Linked DNA regions of Homo sapiens: regions 1, 2, 3, 4, 6 and 7 are each linked to region 5. The links are contacts of gene promoters, found by promoter capture Hi-C in blood cells and fetal thymus (Javierre and others, 2016). All regions are on one chromosome and are shown on one strand. Each heading gives the region's core, a stretch centred on a gene start or on the middle of the fragment in contact. The rest is flanking DNA. Distances are from core to core; before and after follow the strand shown. Region 1 overlaps PHACTR1 (phosphatase and actin regulator 1). Region 2 has its middle 91 kb from the start of ADTRP. Region 3 has its middle 110 kb from the start of ADTRP. Region 4 has its middle 93 kb from the start of TMEM170B. Region 5 holds the start of EDN1 (endothelin 1). Region 6 overlaps LOC340184 (a long non-coding RNA gene). Region 7 overlaps ADTRP (androgen dependent TFPI regulating protein).

Region 1 (3,067 bases), core at 46-2,545, 610 kb after region 5:
CCTGCAAAGGACATGAACTGATATCTTTATTCTACTGAACTTCCGGGGCAGCATTTAGCACTGTGGACCACTGTCTCCTTGAATCACTCATTTTATTTCACCTCAGGCCACCTCATTCTCTTAGGGTTTCTCTTTTTCCTATCTCTCTGTCCATTTTTGCCACTTCTCCTTCCTTTTGTTCTCCTAAACCTTATGTTTACACACGGTCCTGCCCTCTACCATTTTCTCTTCTCTGGAAAGCTTCCCTGCCCAAGGGATCCGTCCACTCCTTCGTCTCCAAATACCGACGGGAGCTGATGACTCTCAAAGCTCCACTTCATTCGAGCTTGCCCTCCTCAATCCTAAAACCATGTGTCCAACAGACCCCACAACCCCAACATGTCCCCGACTCAGCCTCCACTCGCCCTCAGCCCACTTCTATAGTTCCTGTCTCCATCAGCAGCAATGCCAAGAGCCTATTTGCCAAACCAGAAACCTGGCAATCCTCCTTCATGACCAAATGGCCAACTCCTGTCAAATCGACTTCCTAAATGTCTCAGACATATCTGCCTCCTTTTATCTTGGCCGCTGCTACTTTTAATCCAGGCTACTGACATTGACTCGCACTGGGACCACCTTGGCCAGCTCCTGGCAGGACTCATTGCTTCCATTCTTTCGGATCCAGTCTCGTGCTGCAGGCAGAACACTCTTTCTCTCTCTGTCGGCCGCAATCTGTCCTTGTTGCCGGGACTTCCCCATCGATGTCAGAATGCAAATTCCTTAGCTTATGCTCTGTGAGGTTCTCTGTAATCTACCCGCTTGCCTTCCACCCTTCTATGTGTTGATCAGCTCCCCTGCACCGCACTGCAGCCCTGTTCCCAGTACTTGCAGTTCCTTCAACTTGCCTCGCTGTATCTCACCCCTTGCCCTTTGCACATGCTGTTCCCCTGGGCCTGTCTGAAATGTGCTTCCACCAGCAAAGCTACCCCACTCCACTTCTGGCCTATGCTTCCTCATATGCAGCTTCCCTGGTAAAGCCTCCTTTGGTCCCCAGTATCTGTGACAGTGGCCTCCCTGCATTCTCCCAGAGCACCTGTGCGTGCTTCCCTCACATCACTTCTTACATTGGACTGAAATTGCTGCTTGTCTGTGGTTTCCCCACTTTAATAGGGCTGTACCTTCCTTACAGGAGGGGCCAAATCTTATTCATGATTTGCCCACACCTATCACATGCCTGACATACAGTAAGGGATCAAGAAATATTCATTGCAGCAAGGTTTTACTTTCCTAATGCAGGGTTGTTATGGGGAATAGTGATGGAAATAATCATTTTAAAGGCATTAAAGTAATAACAGCACCCCCAGAGAAAGATGATATATCAGCCTTTTACCTGTTAATGTAATTTTCAGACATATCTGTATGTCATAAACTGTTAAAATAGCCCAGCTAATAGGGTTCCTTTAATTTGTCTGAGTGAATGAATAAAACTATAATTAAAAGGGTGTGCCTTGTAGTTACTTGCAAGTATTCATAAAAATCAGACACTAAAGTAATAAAACAGTCAGTGACAAGAGAGGCAAGCTGCAATTTCCAGGTACTGGAGTCACTGTGTGTTTGCCTGCACCCTCTTCTGGGTTGACTGAGAATAGCTTAAGCGTTGAAAAGACTCCCAAAGGACATCTTTATGCTTAGGATAAGCCCTGCAGTGTGGTTTCACATTCAGATCAACTCTGTCTTTCTAAATGAGAAGGAATTGTTGAGGAAAGTGTATGACATTACGATTGATCAAGAAACTGCTTTTTTCCAGCATGGCATGAGCTCACTGCGCAGGAGACTGCACGCCCGGGTCTGTGATGTGTGGTGCCTCCCTGTGTCCATCCCACTGAGAGGGATGGGCTCCATGGTGGTCACAAGAGGGCCATCATCACTGGGGACACAGCTTGCCCCCTTACACCACCAGTGGCCCCTGCCCTGGCAGCCAGAAAACCAAGCTAGGGGACCTCCTCTGTCTAGTGGACCCTCCCTGAAGCACATTGGCCAGATTTAGCAAATATTTAACAAATATTTTATCTGGCAACCCTATCTCTGACATACCTCACCCCACTGTATCGCCTTCTGGTCTCCTTGCTTCACTTCTTCAAACCACTTGTTCTTCCTCTTAAAGATTGGCCTCTTAAATTGCTTGAACTTAAGATTTTTTACTTTATTATTTTTAACTTGTCTGAATCCCTCCTTCCCCCTCTTTCTGTTGTTTTTAAACAACTTCCATTTAGCTCATCATTTTTTTTTTCGAAGCGGATACCTTTATCTTGTGATTTATTATTACTTTCATCTTACTTTAACTCCCACTCATCTTGTGCTGAGAGGCTTTCAAGCTTTACATTTTCTGGTCTCTAAAATTGTTTGTTCTTTTGCATTGTCTTGGCTTATTTTAATATTTTATCATGGGAAGCTGAGGTGAGTGGATTGCTTAAGTCCAGGAGTTTGAGGCCAGCCTGGACAACATGGCGAAACCCTGTCTCTACAAAAAATACAAAAATACACTACGCCAGGCGTACTGGTGTGTGCCTGTAGTCCCAGCTACTTGGGCGGCTGAGTGGGGAGGATTACCTGAGCCCAGGAGGTAGAGGCTGCAGTGAGCAGAGATTGTGCCATTGTACTCCAGCCTGGGCAACACAGTGAGACCCTGTCTCAAAATATATATACATATCAATTTTTATATTAAAGTCCATGTTCAGTGCCTGACTTGTATATGAATTATTCTTTGCCTCATTTTTACTTTATCTACTTTTCACTAATCATTCCTAACTCTTGTGTGTGTGTTTTCGTTTTAACTCGACGTTTTGCTTGATGTTTAAACCTCTTTTGCTTGTTTTTTCTTTCATTGCTCAGGTAAGTGTTACCTTCCATTTTTATGTTTAAATGTTATCTTTTTCTTTTTTTACGAAGGGCAGTTGAGAAAGCATGTTGATAAAGGGACAATCTGTAGGCGGCCCTGCTCTTGGGAGGAATGTGTGTTTTCTTGCTGAGGGTACCTCCTAGGGGAGAGGGTAAGGGGATCAGGAGCCCATTCCAGGCATGTTCTTTC
Region 2 (3,046 bases), core at 13-2,512, 600 kb before region 5:
TTGAAAAGCAACCACAGGTAATAGTTTTATAAACTGTGATGTCACTGCATGCCACTGGTTACTGGAATTCCATTTGCCATTAGCAGGAAGTTCAGCACTGCATTCAAGATGAGGGACCCAGCCAAAGCAAACCCACAATTCCATTGTTGATGTTTGGTCCTACTGATTTGGGTTCTAGACCCCCAAGGAAAGGATAGCCACCTGCTAGTGTTTCTGAGGGGGTATGAATATTGGAAAACTACAACTGGAATCTTCTGCTACTTCCCTAACCATCCCTGCCAAAGTAAAGGAGTGAGGCTGGGCGATGATGACAGCAACGGTACGCAAACAAGAAGAGTGAGTGCCTTCTTCTTCTCCAGCCATCTGGTCTTCCTCCACCCACCACTATTAGAGGAGGCACACCTGGGGCCAGGCACAGTGGCTCATGCCTGTAATCCCAGCACTTTGGGAGGCTGAGGTGGGCGGATCACTTGAGGTCAGGAGTTTGAGACCAGCCTGGCCAACATGGTGAAACTCCATCTCTACCAAAAATACCATCTCTACTAAAAATACAAAAATTAGCCAGGGTTGTTGGTGGGTGCCTGTAATCCCAGCGACTCAGGAGGCTGAGGTGGGAGTACAGGAGATTCGCTTGGACCTGGGAGGCAGAGGTTGCAGTGAGCCAAGATTGCACCACTGCACTCCAGCCTGGGTGCAGTGAGACTCTGTCTCAAAAAAAAAAGAAAAAAGGAAAGAAAAGGAAAGACACACTTGGAGGGAGCTGGTAAAGCAGAAATGGGATTTGCAAAGTCAGCCCCAGAATCACAAAGCCAAGTATAGAAGCATGAGTTTGAGTTTGATACCGAGAGAATAGCTTAATAACTGGCTCACTAATAAAGTGCACTAGGATGAAGTTTTAGCCACTTTTTCATTTAGTACACTTGTAAGACATGGTTAGAGTCTGGGCTGTAATTAAGGATATAGGAGAGGACATATATTTTCCCTTGAAAAGAAAATATTATTGGTTTCCCTATGAAATGTTTCTTTTTAACGTAGTCTCTGTGGAGTCACTCATTTACACTGTGAGCATTATTTATTAGCTCACGGATTTATAGAATACAAGTCAGGATGCACCTTCTAGGTTTATGGTGTTTGCTGCTGGGGGATTCTGTAGAATGGGAAAGAAACCTCATTTAAGCTAAGTTATGTTTTCAGCTGTGCCAGTAGCCAATTTATTTGAAGTTGGCTAGAGTCTTAGTCAATTTTCTTTTGCCACAGTCCATTATTTATCAACAGAGGTCTGTGTTAAAGAGAGAAAGAGATGAAAGAAAGAAAAAGAAAGAGAGAGGAACATACATTTAAAAATATATAAACACTTCATCGCGGCTCCTTGATCCATTTTCACAATCTCCCAGGGATTTGGGGAGAGGGAAGGAAGTGTGAGTCCCTTGCTTTAGGCACTGATTATATAAGGTGAGATTAATTTTCCCACATCGTGTATGGAATCCATCTCCTTGCTTGGCAGTCATAGTTCTGCCTCACTTAAATCTATTTGCATCTAGCTAAGCCCACAGAGGAGGGTGTAGCTTAGAATAGAATTTTGCCTTTCCAATGCTTCTTTGGGAACTTTTCAGGATGATGATAAAGGAAATAATATGGTTAGCTTCAAACGTGCTCATAATTCTTCTGCAACAAAAATTGAAAGCGAGGGGTTGAGAGAAAGGAAGAGACCTGGCTATCTTCTGGGTCATGCTGGAATGCGCTGTTGGTTTTCAAAGTGTGAGGAGTGTTTCAAGATAGTAGGGATCAGGGACAGGCCAAATGGACCCTGTGATGGGGGCCTCTGTTATCCTTCACTGCAGTTAATTAATAGCCTAAGGGAGAAGATAAAGGAGAAGAGAAATGCTTTAGAAAATAAATAAATAAAACGTGGGTACAGGGTCAAGTAGTGCTCTCGCTGTAGAAGGAGATGATTATTGTAATTAGCAGCAATGCATATGGATCGTGCCAATTTGTGAAAGCTGTGAGGGTGTCGTATTTCTTCTATTCTCTCCTCCTACAATCCTCTGCTAACTCGGCTACTCTTGTTAACCTGGTTACTCTGCTGTCTTTGTTTCTTCTCTTTCTCTCTCTCTCTCTCTGTGTGTGTGTGTGTGTGTGTGTGTGTGTGTGTGTGTGTGTATGTGCGTACGTCTGTAGGTAGCTAGATACATGGCTGTGGTAAGTAGTTCTACAGCAGGCAAATATCCCAAAACAGTCGAAAGGGCCAATGTTCTTAGTTGAATGCGACTCAAAATGCAACCAAGTCCATGGTTGCCTGTGATTAATATGAACTAACCCCCTCCCACTTGAGGATGAGAGAGGAGGATTGTGTTGCCTTAATATTCACAATTGTCCATTATCTCGCATATCAAAGAATGACTGAATTTTAAAGCTGGAAGGGCTTTAGAAATCACATTTTCTAACTTCTTATTTTTAAACATGAGAAAGCTGAGGCACGATAGGCTGAATTATGTCTCTGAAGTAACACAGCTGGAGGAAAGCTGGGCCAGGATTGGAAAACAAAGGTTTGCCAGTAACTTTATTGCTGCTTCTTACATGTGATGTACACATGAATAGAAGAGGGTAAATACAATATGTATGCATAGTGTAATATGTAAATACATTCAGCTATATTTGAATATGACATTTTTTAAAAAACTGCTCTTTCTACTTTTTTATGTACAGACATGGGTTCAAAGATCTATTAAGCTTTAACGCATACATTCTTAGATAAAAAATTTGTTATTTGTTGAATATCAAACTATATCCTTGATAACGTCCCTCCTTTTATCTTTCTATATTCTGCCTTTCAAAAGCTTCTATGAGAACTTTTCAGGATAATGATAAAGGAAGTAATGAGGTTAGCTTGACATATGCTTAAGTTCTCTTTGATAACCCTGTCTAAGGAAAGGTTCCTCGGGAGACAGAATGGTCTCTGAACTACGAAGAGAAGAACAGGAAGCAAAGGATACACAGACAGGGGTAGAGGTAACAAGAGAAAACTGCAGGACCTGGGCGCTGATCG
Region 3 (2,944 bases), core at 54-2,553, 620 kb before region 5:
CAATGTTTCCATAGGATCTGCTTCATACTGCTGGTTTTCAATCACTTACCCTATGACTTGAAAACTTACTTTACTTCTCCATGCCTGTTTCCTCATCTGTACAAATGAGGTATAATAATGATTTCTATATCATAGGGTTATTGAGAGGATTAAATTAATAGAAGTAAAATGCTTAGAAAAGTACCTGGAACACAATAATCACACATACCACATTCTACATATACATACACACATATATAAACTTACAGCAATTAAGAAGCTATTTAAAAAATAAAACTGACAGGACTGGGAGATAAATTGAGTATCTAAAGAAAGGGAGAGGTAGATGTGTATCTGCCAGACCTCTTACTCGCAAACAATAGATATCGACTCTGTTATTTAAGTTGAAAGAAACTGATAAGGAAAGGAATAGGCAGAAAAAAGGTGCACTTCCTACCAAAATGGAGTAATAGGGAACCATATTTCCCCTCCTACTTGGAATGACTAAGAAATTGGACAAAATTATATGAAGAAACAGATTTCAAGATATTGGACATTAGGCAATGAAGGGCGGTTATTTTTAAGAGATGGGGATGGGAAATGACGTGAGCCTTACAAATGCCCCAGTTTACCACCTTGAGAGAATTTCTAGGCTGCAGTGCAGCAAGGGTGAACCCAAAAGGAGTCTGCTGCTCACCCTGAGTTGAGGAGGTGGAGCCTCCAGAGAGTTCACAGTAGTTAGAGTTTTCAGGGTACAGCATCAGAGAGGAGAGAGCTGCATGGAGTGATAACTCTGAAGATGTACATAGGGTCCTTCTTGAGTCCTGAGCACTGAGCCTCAGTACTTCTAGAGAGGTACTCATTCTGAGCAGCACATATGGTAAAGAAAACTACCTGAGACCAGAGAAAAACACCTGAAAGGAAGAGAGGGTAGTCAGAGTCAGAGCTCACACAAAGCTGGGAATAGTGTCTGTGCCTGGCCAGACTGGAAAATGAGTCATGGAATAGAATACTTAGAAGGGTCTTAGGCAGGGGAAATTATCACTAGACTAAATGCCACTCCAGTACTCCCTAACAAATCTTAAAAGCAAGCCCTGAAAGAATTGAACTATTTCAAAATAATTAAACTATTAATTATTTTGAAATAATTTATCTCCCAGAACAAATCTCAATTTTATATATATATGAATTTTTTAAAATCCACTACCTAATATGGTAAAATTGACAATGTGTGACATCAAATAAGAAATTATCAGGCATATAAAAAATTGGGAAATATGAACAATATTGAGAAAAATTAATCAATCAAAACTCATAAGCAAATCAGAACTCACAAGATGTCAGAATCAGGGAACGAGGACATTGAAACAGTTACTACAAGTGCCTTCCATTTATTAAAAAAAAGCTAGAGTAGAGATTCAACATGTTAAGTTGTACAAAATATTAACAGTGACTCATATTTAACTTCTAAAAAAGAAAACTAAACTGCCTCAGATGAAGAATACATTGTATGGGATTAATGGCAGATTAGACATTGCAGAAGAAAAGATTAGTGAGTTGAACAGCATAACAATAGAAAGTACCCAAGTGAAATTCAGAGATAACAAAAGACTAAAAATTCAATGAACAGAACATCATTGATATATTGGATAATTTGAAAGAATGTAATGTAGATATAATTGGAGTCTCTAAAACAGAAGAGAAAGAAAGGAAAAAGAGAAAACTAAAGAAACAATGGCTGAAGATTTCCCAGATATGATGAAAACCATAAACCCAAATATCCAAGAAACTCAGCAAATCCTAAGTACAAGAAACACAAAGGCACATAAGAAATGGCTCAAAATTAGTGAAAAAGAGAAAATCACTTAAAAACAGATAAAAAGGTACTATATACACAAAAGAATGAAAATAATAGTGACAGCAAAATTTCTACTGGAAACAATCTAAGTAAAAGAAGAAAAACATCTTTAAAATTCTAAAATGAAAAAAAAACCAACTGCCAATCTATCATTCTGTGGTGAAAATATAATTCAAAAACAAAAATGAAGAAGGACTTTGAAGACATAAAAAAGGTGAAAATATTCATCACCACTGGATCTATACTACAAAACATACTTAAAGATGTTGAAGTGAAATGTATGGTAAACATAGCACAAAGGCTGGGAGAAATAACATGGACATATAATATCATAAATGATGAAGTGGTATAAGCATTACTAGAATGTAGACTGTGATAAGTTAGAGATGTATACTGTATACTGTAAATGCTAGAGTAACCACTAAAATAACAAAACAAAGAGATCTAGCTAAGGAGCTAGAAGGAGATGAAGTGGAGTAATAAAATCGTTCAATTAATACAAAGGGCCACAGAAAAAGAAATCTGTAACAAAGAACAGATAGAAAACAAATAGCAAAATAGTAGCTTTAAACCTAACCATATCAATTATCAATTATCACATGAAATGTCTAAGTACCTCCATTATAAACCAGAAGTGGTCAAATTATATACTGCCTACAGAAATCTACATTTAATATAATGATACAAATAGTTTAAAAATAAAAGCATGAAAAAAGATATAATATGCTAACACTAATTAAAAGAAAGCTGGGATGACAATATTGCTGTCAGATAAAGTATATTTCAAAGCAAAAAACATTACAAGAGATAGAGTCATTTTATAATGAAAAAGTGGTCATTTTTATCAAGAGAATATAACAATCTTAAACTTGAATGCACCTAATAACAAAGTTTCAAAGTAAATAAGCAAGGAGAAATAGACAAATCCCCATTTGTAATTGCAGATTTTAATATCTATCTCTCAGTAATTGATGAAACAAGACAGAAAATTGGCAAAGTTACAGAAAGTTAGAAAATCACTATCATTAAAATGCAACAGGATGCAATACAAGAAAAAAATTTTAAAAATCACTATCAATCAACTTGACATAATTAGCATTTTTAGAG
Region 4 (3,099 bases), core at 435-2,934, 660 kb before region 5:
AGCCTGTTACCCAGGACTTGGACCCAAGAACATCTGAGGGATACTCTTGGGATTTGTACTGTGGCTCCCAAAAGATATAGATCCACTCAGAATCTCAGAATGTGACCTTATTTGGATTAAGCATCTTTGTAGATGTCATTTAAATAAAAATCTCAAATCGAGATCATCCTGATATAGGGTGGACCCCAAATCCAGTGAGGGGTGTTGTTTCAAGAGACAAAGAAAAAGGAGCAGACACAGAGACACTGGGAGGAGAAAGCCATGGGAGGATGGAGGCAGAGCTTGGAGTGATACACCTGCTACTAAGGAATGCCAAAGATGGCGGGAGCCACCAGCAGCTAGGAGAGAGGCGAGGAACAGATTCTCCCTGTGAGCCCCTGGAAGCAATGAACCCTGCTGCCACCTTGATTTCAGATATCTGGCCTCCAGGACTGTGAAAGAAATGAGTTTCTGTTGCTTTGAAGTACCCAATACTGTTACACTGGTCTTTAAGAAAAAAATAAAATAGGTCGGGCATGGTGGCTCACACCTGTAATCTCAGCACTTTGGGAGGCTAAGGCAGGTGGATCACGAAGTTAAGAGATCAAGATCATACTGGCCAACGTGGTGAAACCCTGTCTCTACTAAAAATACAAAAATTAGCCAGGCGTGGTGGCATGTGCCTGTAGTCCCAGCTACTTAGGAGGCTGAGGCAGGAGAATCGCTTGAACCTGGGAGACAGAGGTTGCAGTGAGCCAAGATGGCGCCACTGCACTCCAGCCTGGCGACAGAGCAAGACTCCATCTCAACAAATAAATAAATAAATAAAATAAACCACCCAACTTGGGATCATTTGTTGCGGTAGCCTCAGGCAATGAATGCAGGGTTGTACCAGAAAATTCCTCATCATCCACCAGTTCTGTGGTTCCTCTGACACTGTTAATGGGGGGGCACTCTAACCCTCACTCTAATATTTCTTCTGAGTTTCTGTACTTGGCTTTCTGTGTTAGCTGGCCCTTTATCTCTGGGGCACCTCTATGCCAGAGAAGCCTTTTGTAAGAAGACTTTTGAAACTAGATCTCTATTTAGTGGCTAATCCTAACACCCAAGCAGAGATGGGCACAAAGACTGGGCTCCTAGCATGGCGCCCACTACTGATAATCATATACAATTGACAGTTTTCAGAGTGTCCTCGCATATATCATTTCATCCTCAGAGCAACTCCATAAAGAAGCAGGTCAAGAACAGTTACTTATTTTACCCAGGGGAAAACTGAAGCTTAGAGAACATAGAACGCTTTCGCTCGTCCCATAATTTGCGAATATATTTATGATGGAATTGGAGGGGACCAGGTTCTTTCTTTCTCTTGCATTAGTTAGAAATGTATTTGGCAACAAGTATCAGAACTCTTGATATTTCTGATGGTGGCTTAAAGAAATAAAGGTATGCTTATCTCAGAAAATAATCATCAGAGGAGGCCAGGGCAGGGCTGGTGTGTGACCCAAACATGGCACCCTCCTATTGCTCAAGGTCGTCTTCCCATTGCTCAGCACAGAGGGCTTTCCTTCCTACTTGCCTATCTGTTTTTTAGTGTGACTGCTATACCCCCAGGCTATCCAGTAGGGAGAATGGGAAGAAGTAAGAGGGCTACAGAGTGAAGAGCTTTCTCCTAACAAAGCTCTGCCCTTTGGCTTTAGGCCTCTTCCCCAGTGACGTCTGCCTACACATCACCAGTCAGAATTGTGTCTCGTGGAGGGTTGCTTCCCTGAGGAACACAGGTGTGGAGAAAGGGATAAATATGGGAGGGAAAAACTCTTCAGGGTTACCATTTCGAGTATGTTTTGTTTCCTAAAGTCTGCTTAGGTTGGTACTTGCTGCAATTTTCATTTCACTTGTCAAGTCTTATGGAGAACTGCTTACTCTTACGGTTAGTAGTATTAGAACAGCCACAGTCACCCTAGTAACAATGATGATGAAAAATATGATCAACTTCCACCTGCTCATCTGACTCTTTTTTCCTAATCTTTAGCAACACTCTGTGTTAGGTGGGAACAAAAACAATAAATACATTGCTGATTTTAATGTGAGATGTTCAAATCTCTGACATTTTTAACCTCTAAAGAAGGAGAACACAAGCTTTATTGAGGGCAAATATTTTTGTTATGTTGTTTAAAAAGTAGTATCCTGTGCCCTTGGCTCATTAGAACAGCAATAAACATGTAATGGGAAGGCTATTTTGTTTTCTGACGGGTGCTGTCATTTGCTTTCCTGTGAAAATTTTGGATGCCAAACTGAAATGCTGAAGAAAGTCTGTGCTCTGAAAATAAAATTACATCTTCCTGGAGACCCATGGGAACACGCAGGGGACGCTTGGCTGGGCCCTGTCAGTGACAGCTGCCATTCTGCCTGTGAAGTTCACAGATAATTAAGTTACACAGGGCGGGCTGGCTCCCAGTTGTTTCCTCCAGAGAAAGACCATTTCTTGGCCACTGAGCAGAGGTGGATTTGCCATGAAGGCCACATGAAGCTGAAGCCTGAGGGCCCCTCACTTGCGGTGGCCTGCTTGCTGCGAAGAACCCGCCAATGTCTACATAAGTCCTGTGTCTGACAGTTTGTAAGAGGAATCCTTTTTATTTCTTTTTCTTAAAGAGGGTCCCCCAGAGTGTCTAAAAGTCCAGGTTCCACCCGGGATGACATTGTCATCTCTGCATCTGGGACAACATTGTTGGCAAAAATTTCCCGAGATGCAGCAAGCATTTGCCTTTTCTCCTCCCTGTACCTCTGGTCCCCAACACAGAGCCTTTTTCTCCCCATGGCGTCTACACCTCTGGACTAGAAAAGCTCTCTGGGCCAGGCCGGAGAGGCATTCAGCCCTCCATGGCCGATTTTGAGGTGCTTTCATACTACAGAGGCATGAACAGACAGCTGCTGTACGGAGTGTTGACAGAAGAAAGCCAGGTTGGGGAAATCTTTGCCACTAAATGATCAGAAAAAAGGCCAAAAATATATCTTTTAACATGAGTGAAGTCTCTCTGGGAAAACCGCTTTGAAACCTCAAGCTAAGGGTGGATTATCCTGTCCCTGTGGTCCCAGACATCCTGACCCTACTGGTCTCTTCAG
Region 5 (3,138 bases), core at 304-2,803:
CCAGCATGTGTGTTGTGCCAGTCTTGGAAATTCATCCGTGCTTGAATTCCACCCTCCATCCCCAGAAAAACTGGAGTAAAACAAAAAGAGGAGATGGACAAAGTGTGTATTTGATGGCATCCCCTGGGAAGAGACTCTAAATTTATCCCATAGGTCTTACTGGGCCACTGTGAGCGCTTTGGTGGAGAACAAACAAAAATTCTGGGTGCTCAGTTGTCTAACCTGAAAAATGGGACTAGCGGAAAAAGCCAATGTGTTCCATGCACCTTTTGCTTTCTTTATTAAGGCATGATGTCACCTGTACAGTAACTGCCCTGTGTGTACTTCAGGGGGGGATTTCAAGGTTAGATAGACAGGAAATTGTTTTGAAAATGTAAACACATTATTAAATGTGAAGTATTATCTGATTCCTTGTTCGAATGGCATTTCCTTCTCAGCACCACCTTCCTTGCATATTCACTTAACCTTGTACAAGAACACCTTTTTGCCCTAAATGAAGACACCCCCCCAAAAAAAAGAGTCCCAGAAAATATGTCCCTGCTTGTGCGGGGAATAAATAGAATATTCTGAGGTGCATTCCTCCTTCCTATGTTAGGCAACATTCCTTGACCCTCCTCGGCCCCCAAGCCAGGTTGCGTTTTTTTCTGCCATTTAGAAGGGTTTTCCTTTTTGTCCTAGTAAAACATCAGCCCCTGTAGCTCTTCATCTCCCCCTGGTGTTCTTCTCCCGCCATGTCTTAAGATTGGTGGCACCGACCAATCTTAAGATTTAAGTTCTGTGTGAAAAACACCTTTGCTTTTCAATCAGTTTATCAGCCTCCTCCGCAGGGGAAGTGTGGACACACAAAAGAACTTATCGGGGCTTCTCATCAGTGATAGGGAAAAGACTGGGCATGTGCCTAAACGAGCTCTGATGTTATTTTTAAGCTCCCTTTCTTGCCAATCCCTCACGGATCTTTCTCCGATAGATGCAAAGAACTTCAGCAAAAAAGACCCGCAGGAAGGGGCTTGAAGAGAAAAGTACGTTGATCTGCCAAAATAGTCTGACCCCCAGTAGTGGGGCAGTGACGAGGGAGAGCATTCCCTTGTTTGACTGAGACTAGAATCGGAGAGACATAAAAGGAAAATGAAGCGAGCAACAATTAAAAAAAATTCCCCGCACACAACAATACAATCTATTTAAACTGTGGCTCATACTTTTCATACCAATGGTATGACTTTTTTTCTGGAGTCCCCTCTTCTGATTCTTGAACTCCGGGGCTGGCAGCTTGCAAAGGGGAAGCGGACTCCAGCACTGCACGGGCAGGTTTAGCAAAGGTCTCTAATGGGTATTTTCTTTTTCTTAGCCCTGCCCCCGAATTGTCAGACGGCGGGCGTCTGCCTCTGAAGTTAGCAGTGATTTCCTTTCGGGCCTGGCCTTATCTCCGGCTGCACGTTGCCTGTTGGTGACTAATAACACAATAACATTGTCTGGGGCTGGAATAAAGTCGGAGCTGTTTACCCCCACTCTAATAGGGGTTCAATATAAAAAGCCGGCAGAGAGCTGTCCAAGTCAGACGCGCCTCTGCATCTGCGCCAGGCGAACGGGTCCTGCGCCTCCTGCAGTCCCAGCTCTCCACCGCCGCGTGCGCCTGCAGACGCTCCGCTCGCTGCCTTCTCTCCTGGCAGGCGCTGCCTTTTCTCCCCGTTAAAAGGGCACTTGGGCTGAAGGATCGCTTTGAGATCTGAGGAACCCGCAGCGCTTTGAGGGACCTGAAGCTGTTTTTCTTCGTTTTCCTTTGGGTTCAGTTTGAACGGGAGGTTTTTGATCCCTTTTTTTCAGAATGGATTATTTGCTCATGATTTTCTCTCTGCTGTTTGTGGCTTGCCAAGGAGCTCCAGAAACAGGTAGGCACGCTCGTTGACTTGTAAGTCTCGGAATTACAAGTTAGTGTGTTCTTATCCACCTTCATGCTTTTCTTGCTTCTATTTTTCCCCGTTCTTTTTATGACTGCAGCTTAGAGAGCAAGTGTCTGAGAATTATTGCTGAAAGCTACTTTAAGTCTTCTAGTGTAAAATGTAAAATTCCTCTATTGAATACAATTAGGTGCAATTGACTATAACATGACATTAAAATAACTTATCGTTTTATTATTATTATTCCATTATGTGTTTCCTTGGCTTTTAAAAAATGAGAAGAGTATGGACATATACAATTTAGTCAAATGTATGTTTGTAATATATGTGTTTATACAGGTACACAGGCCATATAGGAACTTAAATCTTATTTAAACACTATTTTAATAGTGTGTTAACGTGTAAAATATTTAAGCATTCCAGCTTGAAGCCAAGGAATTGTATCCAGTCGTTCAAGCAATGTATGTTCAGTAAAATCACCTGCAGAGCAAAAGTCTGTTGACTAACTACCGCCTCCCCCCCCCCCCGCCACCACCCCCCGCAGGCGGTTTCTGGGTGAAGCAGATGTTTTCTTTAAAATTTGTCATCATTGACTTTAGGTTTCTTTTGGCAGGTTTTTGGCACCCAAAACAGTGTGAGCTCTCTTTTCAGCTTTATTCACCTGTGCTGGGAGGGGAGCTAGGATAATTCTTGGCTGCCGAAGGATTTAGGCAGTGCGTGTGCATCTGCCCGGGTCCCCCCCGTTTTTAGGGTCAGTGCACTTTTTTTGTCTTTTCGTGACCCTGACTAAAGAGAAAGGATGTCAAGGGAATGAAAATCCTGGAATGTGTCTGATCATTTGAAATGTACAAAATTGGGCAGATAAGCTGCATGGCTAAATTGTTAGGAGGAAGAGGCAAGGCAGTAGTGGAGAAGGGGGAGGCAGTGGATCCCACACAAGCCTGATGCCCAGGGATTCGGAATTCAAAATCCCCCCAGCCTACCTTCAGTCCCCTGACCTGCTTCTCAGCCCCACCTTAGGTCACTGGTTTCTATGGAGTTACCCTCCTGAATTGAATATTGAATAGTTAATTTCTCTCTCCAATCATTTTCCCCACCTAATTTTGAAAGATATACATCATCTGGGGTACCCTGTGCCCTACACAGCATGTGAAGTGGATGGGTACCCCCTAAAGAGAGGGTCATCCTGAATGGGGAAGTGGCCCCAAAGCTAGGAATAACTGTGATTTCTTGTCTTTAGTCA
Region 6 (2,745 bases), core at 214-2,713, 590 kb before region 5:
TCTGTCAACCTTACTGAGCTTCAGTTTCTTTTTCCTTAATATTGAGAGAATGATGCCTGTCTCTCTGAGCATGGTGAGGCCTAGAGATAATGAATTGCAAATGCCTGTCCTGTAGTGGGCACTCAACAGATGGTATAAATTACGGGTGACTCCTTGAACCAGGAAAGACACGTGAGAAGTGTTAAAAGCTGGAATTTAACATCTCAATCCCCTCATTTGTCAAATAGGAATAATGTATTGGGTTGAATATGGTCTCACCCCTTTCACCCCCAATACGCACGTCCACCTAAAACCTCCGAATGTGACCGTATTTGGAAATATGGTCTTTACAGATGTGATTAGTTTAGGATCCTGAAATAAATGATACTAGACTTACAGTAGACTCTAAATCTGTGACTAGCATCCTTATAAGAGAAAGGACAGGGAGATTTGAATACAGATTCCAGATTCTCTGTAAGGTAAGAGGTGCAGAGACACACAGGGAAGAATGCCATGTGGAAACAGGCAGATATTGGAGTGATGTGGCCACAAACCAAGGATTAGTGGGAGCCACCAGGATGAAAGATTCTTCCTCAGAGGCTTCAGAGGAAGCATAGTAATCCTGACACCTTGATTTCAGACTGCTGGCTAGCAGAACTGTGAGAGGATACATTTCTATTTTATTTATTTATTTATTTATTTATTTATTTATTGACACAGTCTAGTTCTGTCACCCAGGCTGGAGTCTAGTGGCACGATCTTGGCTCACTGCAATTTTCAATCCCTACTGCCCAGGTTCAAGCGATTCTCCTGCCTCAGCCTCCCGAGTAGCTGGGATTACAGGCGCCCGCCACCATGCCCAGCTAATTTTTGTAGTTTTAGTAGAGACGGTACAAGGGGTTTCACTGTGTTGTCCAGGCTGGTCTCGAACTCCTGACCTCGTGAGCCACCCACCTTAGCCTCCCAAAGTGCTGGGATTACAGGCAGGAGCCACCATGCCCGGCCACATTTCTATCATTTTTAAGCCACCTGGTTTGTGATACTTGGCTATAGTAGCTCCAGGAAACTAAAACAGATAATAATAGTAACTATACTACTTCTACGTTATTGTAACTAAAATAAATTTATATTGCAAATATAACTAAATTTAGTAATAGTGAAATTTTAGCTAAATGTGAATTGGGATTATTTAGATGCTAGGTAAGCAGTCTAGGGCGATGATTTCTGTGCTAGGAACAAAGGCCACTGGTGCTTGGAGGGCCTTTCAAGTGTGACTGTGTGAGGGATACAGTGAAATGGCAAGAGTTGAGTTTAGGAAGGGACAAGGTGAGATGCAATAAGTCAACACCAAAGAGTGCCCTCTCGGGCACCTCCACTCACCAACCAGGGAAGAGCAGCTGGTTATCCTTTGATCTCTATCTCACAAGCACCTCATGCACAAATAGCTTAGCATCTTCTTGGCTGTCATCTTGGGGATCCCCCTTAAAGTTATACTTTCAATCCCATTCCCAATAAGCGACCACAGAACCACGATTCATGCAGCCGCGGCATTTTCGTTAAGCCCTAGAATGAATGGGTAAGTTTCCCTTTGTCATTGTGTATATAGTCATGCAAATAATCCGTGTCTTCCATGCTTGGGGTCTAAAATGGTTCCCAAGTGGACTTAGATATGTTCCTCTGTGAATTGGCAGGGCATTTTGGAATGGTTCTTTCCTTCCCCTTGATTTGAGGATTACATGGAAATCCACATTGCTGAGTGGGAAAACTCTGAATTGGTGTCCAGCAGTTCTTTTGGCCTCTTCCTCTTAGTTTGGTGATATGTGACGGCAATAAAAGGTCATGATGGCAGGATGAGTCTGGAAAAGGAGAAATACTGGCAGTGATACTGCAATCTATTTTGCAAGAAAGAGAATTTTATTTAACCACATGATTTTAAAAATTGGCAAAGTTGCCGGGTGCAGTGCCTCACGCCTGTAACCCCAGCACTTTGGGAGGCCAGGGTGGGTGGATTCATCTGAGGTCAGGAGCTCGAAACCAGCCTGACCAACATGGTGAAACCCCATCTGTACTAAAAATACAAAATTAGCTGGGCATGGTGGCACACGCCTGTAATCCCAGCGACTCGGGAGGCTGAGGCAGGAGAATCACTTGAACCCAGGAGGCGGAGGTTGCAGTAAGCCGAGATTGTGCCATTGCACTCCAGCCTGGGCAAGAAGAGTGAAACTCCATCTCAAAAAAAAAAAAAAAAAATTGGCAAAGTTCAGTTAATGTATATATATAAAATGACAACATAAGTGCATTTTAGAATGTAGCTAGAAAAATTTTAATAAGGAATAAAACATGTCTAGATGGGAGTCTTCAGAATCACGTACCAGATTCCTGGCAAGGTATTGTAAAAGTCATACAGTACATGTTTTCCTAACTCTATGTCATCTAACTTCATTATTAGAATCTTAATAAAATTTAGTGTTGAGTGAAAACAAATCCCTAAAGTGTAACCAAATATATTTGCTCAGGCCAGACTTAAGCCTCAGCGGAAGGTTTTGTAAGCTCTTACGGTGGAAGGGATCTTTTTCTTCTTCCTGTTAGCATCTCAGAGGAGCTGAGTCTAGCAGAGCAGCTGCTAACAGAGGAAGCTGGGAAAGCCAGGCTTGGCGTCCCAAAGGAGCGGCAAGATGAAAGCATGCAATCCTCCATACAGGCCTGCAAATGCCAGGTGGATGACCACCATGTCCTTACACTCAGGCCATGGCATGCATATGGCCA
Region 7 (2,728 bases), core at 188-2,687, 570 kb before region 5:
ATTGAGGCAACGAGAAAGCTAATGGAAATAGTGGATCTTGAGATGAACAAGACATACCCCTAATTCGTAAGACACCCGAGGTCTAGTGGAAAAACAAATCCCTAAAGCAGTAGTAAAACCGCAGTCATGATAAAATGGTAAGTCTGGTGACTGGGAGGTAAAGGGGGAAGCACTGGGAAGGGCATGAAGTCCAACCTGGGCTGACCAGGGAAGGCTTCCTGGAAGAGGCGAGTGTTGAAATGCATGAGTATGAACCAGGCAAAGACTGGAGGAGACACAGAATCCCGTGGACGTAAGAAACAACATCAACGTGGAGGGAAAACCAGCAGTTTGGTGCCACTGGGGCACACATATAGAAGAGCAAAAGCCAAAGCAGGGACTGGGTCACAGAGGCCCTTGTGTGTCATTCCAAGGGTGTGGACTTTCTTCAGTCAATTGGGGGAAGCCTTAGAAAGTGTTTTCAGTAGAATAGGACATGGGGAAATGTGTTCACATAGGTTATTTAGCTTTCAGCAATGTAAAAGTGTTCACTGCATTGCAACTTTAACAAATCTAATTTTTCTTTAATTCGTATTAAATTATTTATAATTAATAAAGATCTGTTCAAGATTTAATACATTTCTGATCTTATTCTGATGTTAAATAGGACCTTTTACCCTTTCTCTTCTTTAAAAAGTTAAAAATCTAGAAAGACCTCGAGAGGTAAGTACAGTCATTTACAATCGTCTCTTTCTACTTGAAAACTTGCATGTACATGAGGTAGTTGAGGGTCCATATGATGCCAGCTTATCTGTTTATTGAGACCTAATTATAGTTAAAAATTGGATGCAGTACTTAAACAATGAGGCTTGTTAAGAACGTTGTATTGAGAATAGTAATTTCAATAATAATAAATATGATGATAATTTTGTTTTTTAATTCAATGGATGTTTAAAATTCACCATAGAGTAACAATTTAAAAATTAACTCAATACATTATTGAACTCAATACAATTGATTTTAAAAGTTATTGTTCTCTAAGCTCTAAGTAATCAAGTTTTTCTCTGTACTTCCTATATCTTAAAGCTTCTTTAAATATATATAGAGAGAGAGAGATTTGGGGAGGCATCAGAAATCTTTACCCAGAACTTCAAGGAGCCAAAACTAGTTAGAATTATATGTCAACACATCTGAAATGTCAACACATTTTTTTTTTTGCGATAATTTTCTGTGATTTGGAATCCTGATTGGGAAGTAATTTTTAGTATTCCATTTTTTTAAGTGTTTGCTTTCAAAGAGAATTTTGCCCTTGAGAGTTTCTTAAACCAGTCAAATTCTCCAAGAGTAGAAAACATGTGATACATCCAAGTTGCGTGCTTATTTCTCCAGGGTCTCAGCTTCCTCTCAGAAACGCACACTCTGGTACTGAACCTTCTGAAACTGTCAGGTTTTTTTTGCATACACGGGCTTATGTTTTCACACCAGTTCATAGATTGGGCGGAAGATGGCACTTCTGCCATCTCTATTTTGATAGAACAGAATGGCATGTGGGCGAGTGATGTGGGGGACTGGGTGTGACTCTTTGCCATCCTTATATACAGAATCAGGGTAGAGTTCCTGCGCTTCTCCTGGGGTAGGGAAGCAAGTCATGGGTGTTTTACAGCCTGACTTTCTGGTAGTTACTTTTCCAACAATAAAAAAATATTCTGGGGTGGGGTGGGGAGAGAGGAAGCAGGAAGGAGAATGAAATCTTCCATTTTAAAATTAACTAAGTTAAGATGATTTTTTTTTCTTAGGAAGAAGCAACAGGATTGTACCCACCTATAACGAGAAAGCTTAACTTACTGACATATTCTCATTGCTGAAGACTCTGTCTGAATGAGGATTTCAATCTCAAGTCTAGGATGTGATTTCATCTGGTAAATGTCTTATGGAAGGCTGAGGAGCAGCCTAATGAGGTACTGCTGAGTTGGGAGGAGGTGGGAGGAGCTGAGAGGGCTATCTGGACTCACTTCCCTCAAAATGAAACCTTGATATTTTCAAAGCTTGTGTCCCTGGAGCCCTCACTTGGGTTAGGGGGAGACCCCTGATTTTATTTATTCATGCTAGGGATGGTAATACCTTGTTCTCTAGGTCCTGGGCTTTCTAAAGAAGATTATTTTTAGCTCTAAAGTTAAATGACACATTGTTTGGGGGAGGAGGGGAGATCCTTTGATGGGGTCCTTTAAAAGAGTGCCCCACCCCCAACGCTGTCCTCTTGCCTTGGCAGGACCTCTTGGCAGGACCTGTCTGAGTACTTTGGACAAAGACAGTAAGCATCATTGCTTCTGTTTGCGGCTAGTTTTTCTTTCTGTTTCCAGGTGAAGGGGAGAGGCAGACACGGAAGAAGCGCATCTGTAGCTAAGAAAGAAATACACTGACCCCATTTCCAGTGGTTGAGCTTCTCTCCAAGTAGGTAGATGCTGGCGATGAAGACGTAGCTGAGAGAGAAGAAAGCTGCTAGACCCAAGAGGCTGAGTTTGGCAAACACAGGATACACCCAGGTACCCGTCTCAAAGTAGAGCCATAGGATGCTGCAGGAAATAAGAAGTCGTGGTGGTTATAGCAGGAGGAGAAAAACAAGCCATTTTCTCATCAGGATTAATGAGGTACTGGTACCCAGGCAGGGGAAGAGAACCCATCAGGGACGTTTGTCAACAGCTGTAGTATTCCCACAAACCTAAAGAAGTGAGGCTTTTCTGGGTAAATC

The links. The method cuts DNA at HindIII sites, captures the fragments that hold promoters and counts their contacts. A CHiCAGO score of 5 or more calls a contact.
Region 1: a contact is called between a fragment that was not itself captured here and the fragment with the promoter of EDN1 in region 5, in 1 of 17 cell types (M2 macrophages). The highest score is 5.2, in M2 macrophages.
Region 2: a fragment that was not itself captured here is called in contact with the fragment with the promoter of EDN1 in region 5 in 15 of 17 cell types (naive B cells, total B cells, megakaryocytes and 12 more); the score reaches 16.6 in naive B cells.
Region 3: a fragment that was not itself captured here is called in contact with the fragment with the promoter of EDN1 in region 5 in 15 of 17 cell types (activated CD4 T cells, total CD8 T cells, naive CD4 T cells and 12 more); the score reaches 13.1 in activated CD4 T cells.
Region 4: a contact is called between a fragment that was not itself captured here and the fragment with the promoter of EDN1 in region 5, in 13 of 17 cell types (M0 macrophages, M1 macrophages, activated CD4 T cells and 10 more). The highest score is 15.3, in M0 macrophages.
Region 6: a fragment that was not itself captured here is called in contact with the fragment with the promoter of EDN1 in region 5 in 4 of 17 cell types (naive B cells, megakaryocytes, naive CD8 T cells and 1 more); the score reaches 7.8 in naive B cells.
Region 7: a fragment that was not itself captured here is called in contact with the fragment with the promoter of EDN1 in region 5 in 6 of 17 cell types (naive B cells, M2 macrophages, total CD8 T cells and 3 more); the score reaches 9.5 in naive B cells.

Annotation. Positions count from the first base shown.
Region 1 is chr6:12,898,026-12,901,092 of GRCh38, forward strand. All of the region lies in intron 4 of PHACTR1 (phosphatase and actin regulator 1), which reads left to right. Among named protein-coding and RNA genes, the nearest start is that of PHACTR1, 180 kb to the left of the region's middle. The HindIII fragment of the contact is 2,114 bases long and covers 239-2,352 here.
Region 2 is chr6:11,685,983-11,689,028 of GRCh38, forward strand. No RefSeq gene overlaps it. Among named protein-coding and RNA genes, the nearest start is that of ADTRP, 91 kb to the right of the region's middle. The HindIII fragment of the contact is 2,932 bases long and covers 1-2,728 here.
Region 3 is chr6:11,669,395-11,672,338 of GRCh38, forward strand. No RefSeq gene overlaps it. Among named protein-coding and RNA genes, the nearest start is that of ADTRP, 110 kb to the right of the region's middle. The HindIII fragment of the contact is 4,847 bases long and covers 1-2,944 here.
Region 4 is chr6:11,628,818-11,631,916 of GRCh38, forward strand. No RefSeq gene overlaps it. Among named protein-coding and RNA genes, the nearest start is that of TMEM170B, 93 kb to the left of the region's middle. The HindIII fragment of the contact is 858 bases long and covers 1,256-2,113 here.
Region 5 is chr6:12,288,808-12,291,945 of GRCh38, forward strand. It overlaps EDN1 (endothelin 1), which reads left to right and starts at 1,554. Exons shown (of 5, transcript NM_001955.5): 1 at 1,554-1,886. The coding sequence starts at 1,823. RefSeq lists enhancers at 1-163, 1,307-1,406, 1,417-1,486. The HindIII fragment of the contact is 4,555 bases long and covers 1-3,138 here.
Region 6 is chr6:11,703,807-11,706,551 of GRCh38, forward strand. All of the region lies in intron 2 of LOC340184 (a long non-coding RNA gene), which reads left to right. Among named protein-coding and RNA genes, the nearest start is that of ADTRP, 74 kb to the right of the region's middle. The HindIII fragment of the contact is 4,209 bases long and covers 1-2,745 here.
Region 7 is chr6:11,720,949-11,723,676 of GRCh38, forward strand. ADTRP (androgen dependent TFPI regulating protein) reads right to left here. Exons shown (of 6, transcript NM_032744.4): 5 at 2,401-2,552. Among named protein-coding and RNA genes, the nearest start is that of ADTRP, 56 kb to the right of the region's middle. RefSeq lists an enhancer at 1,266-2,465. The HindIII fragment of the contact is 749 bases long and covers 1,064-1,812 here.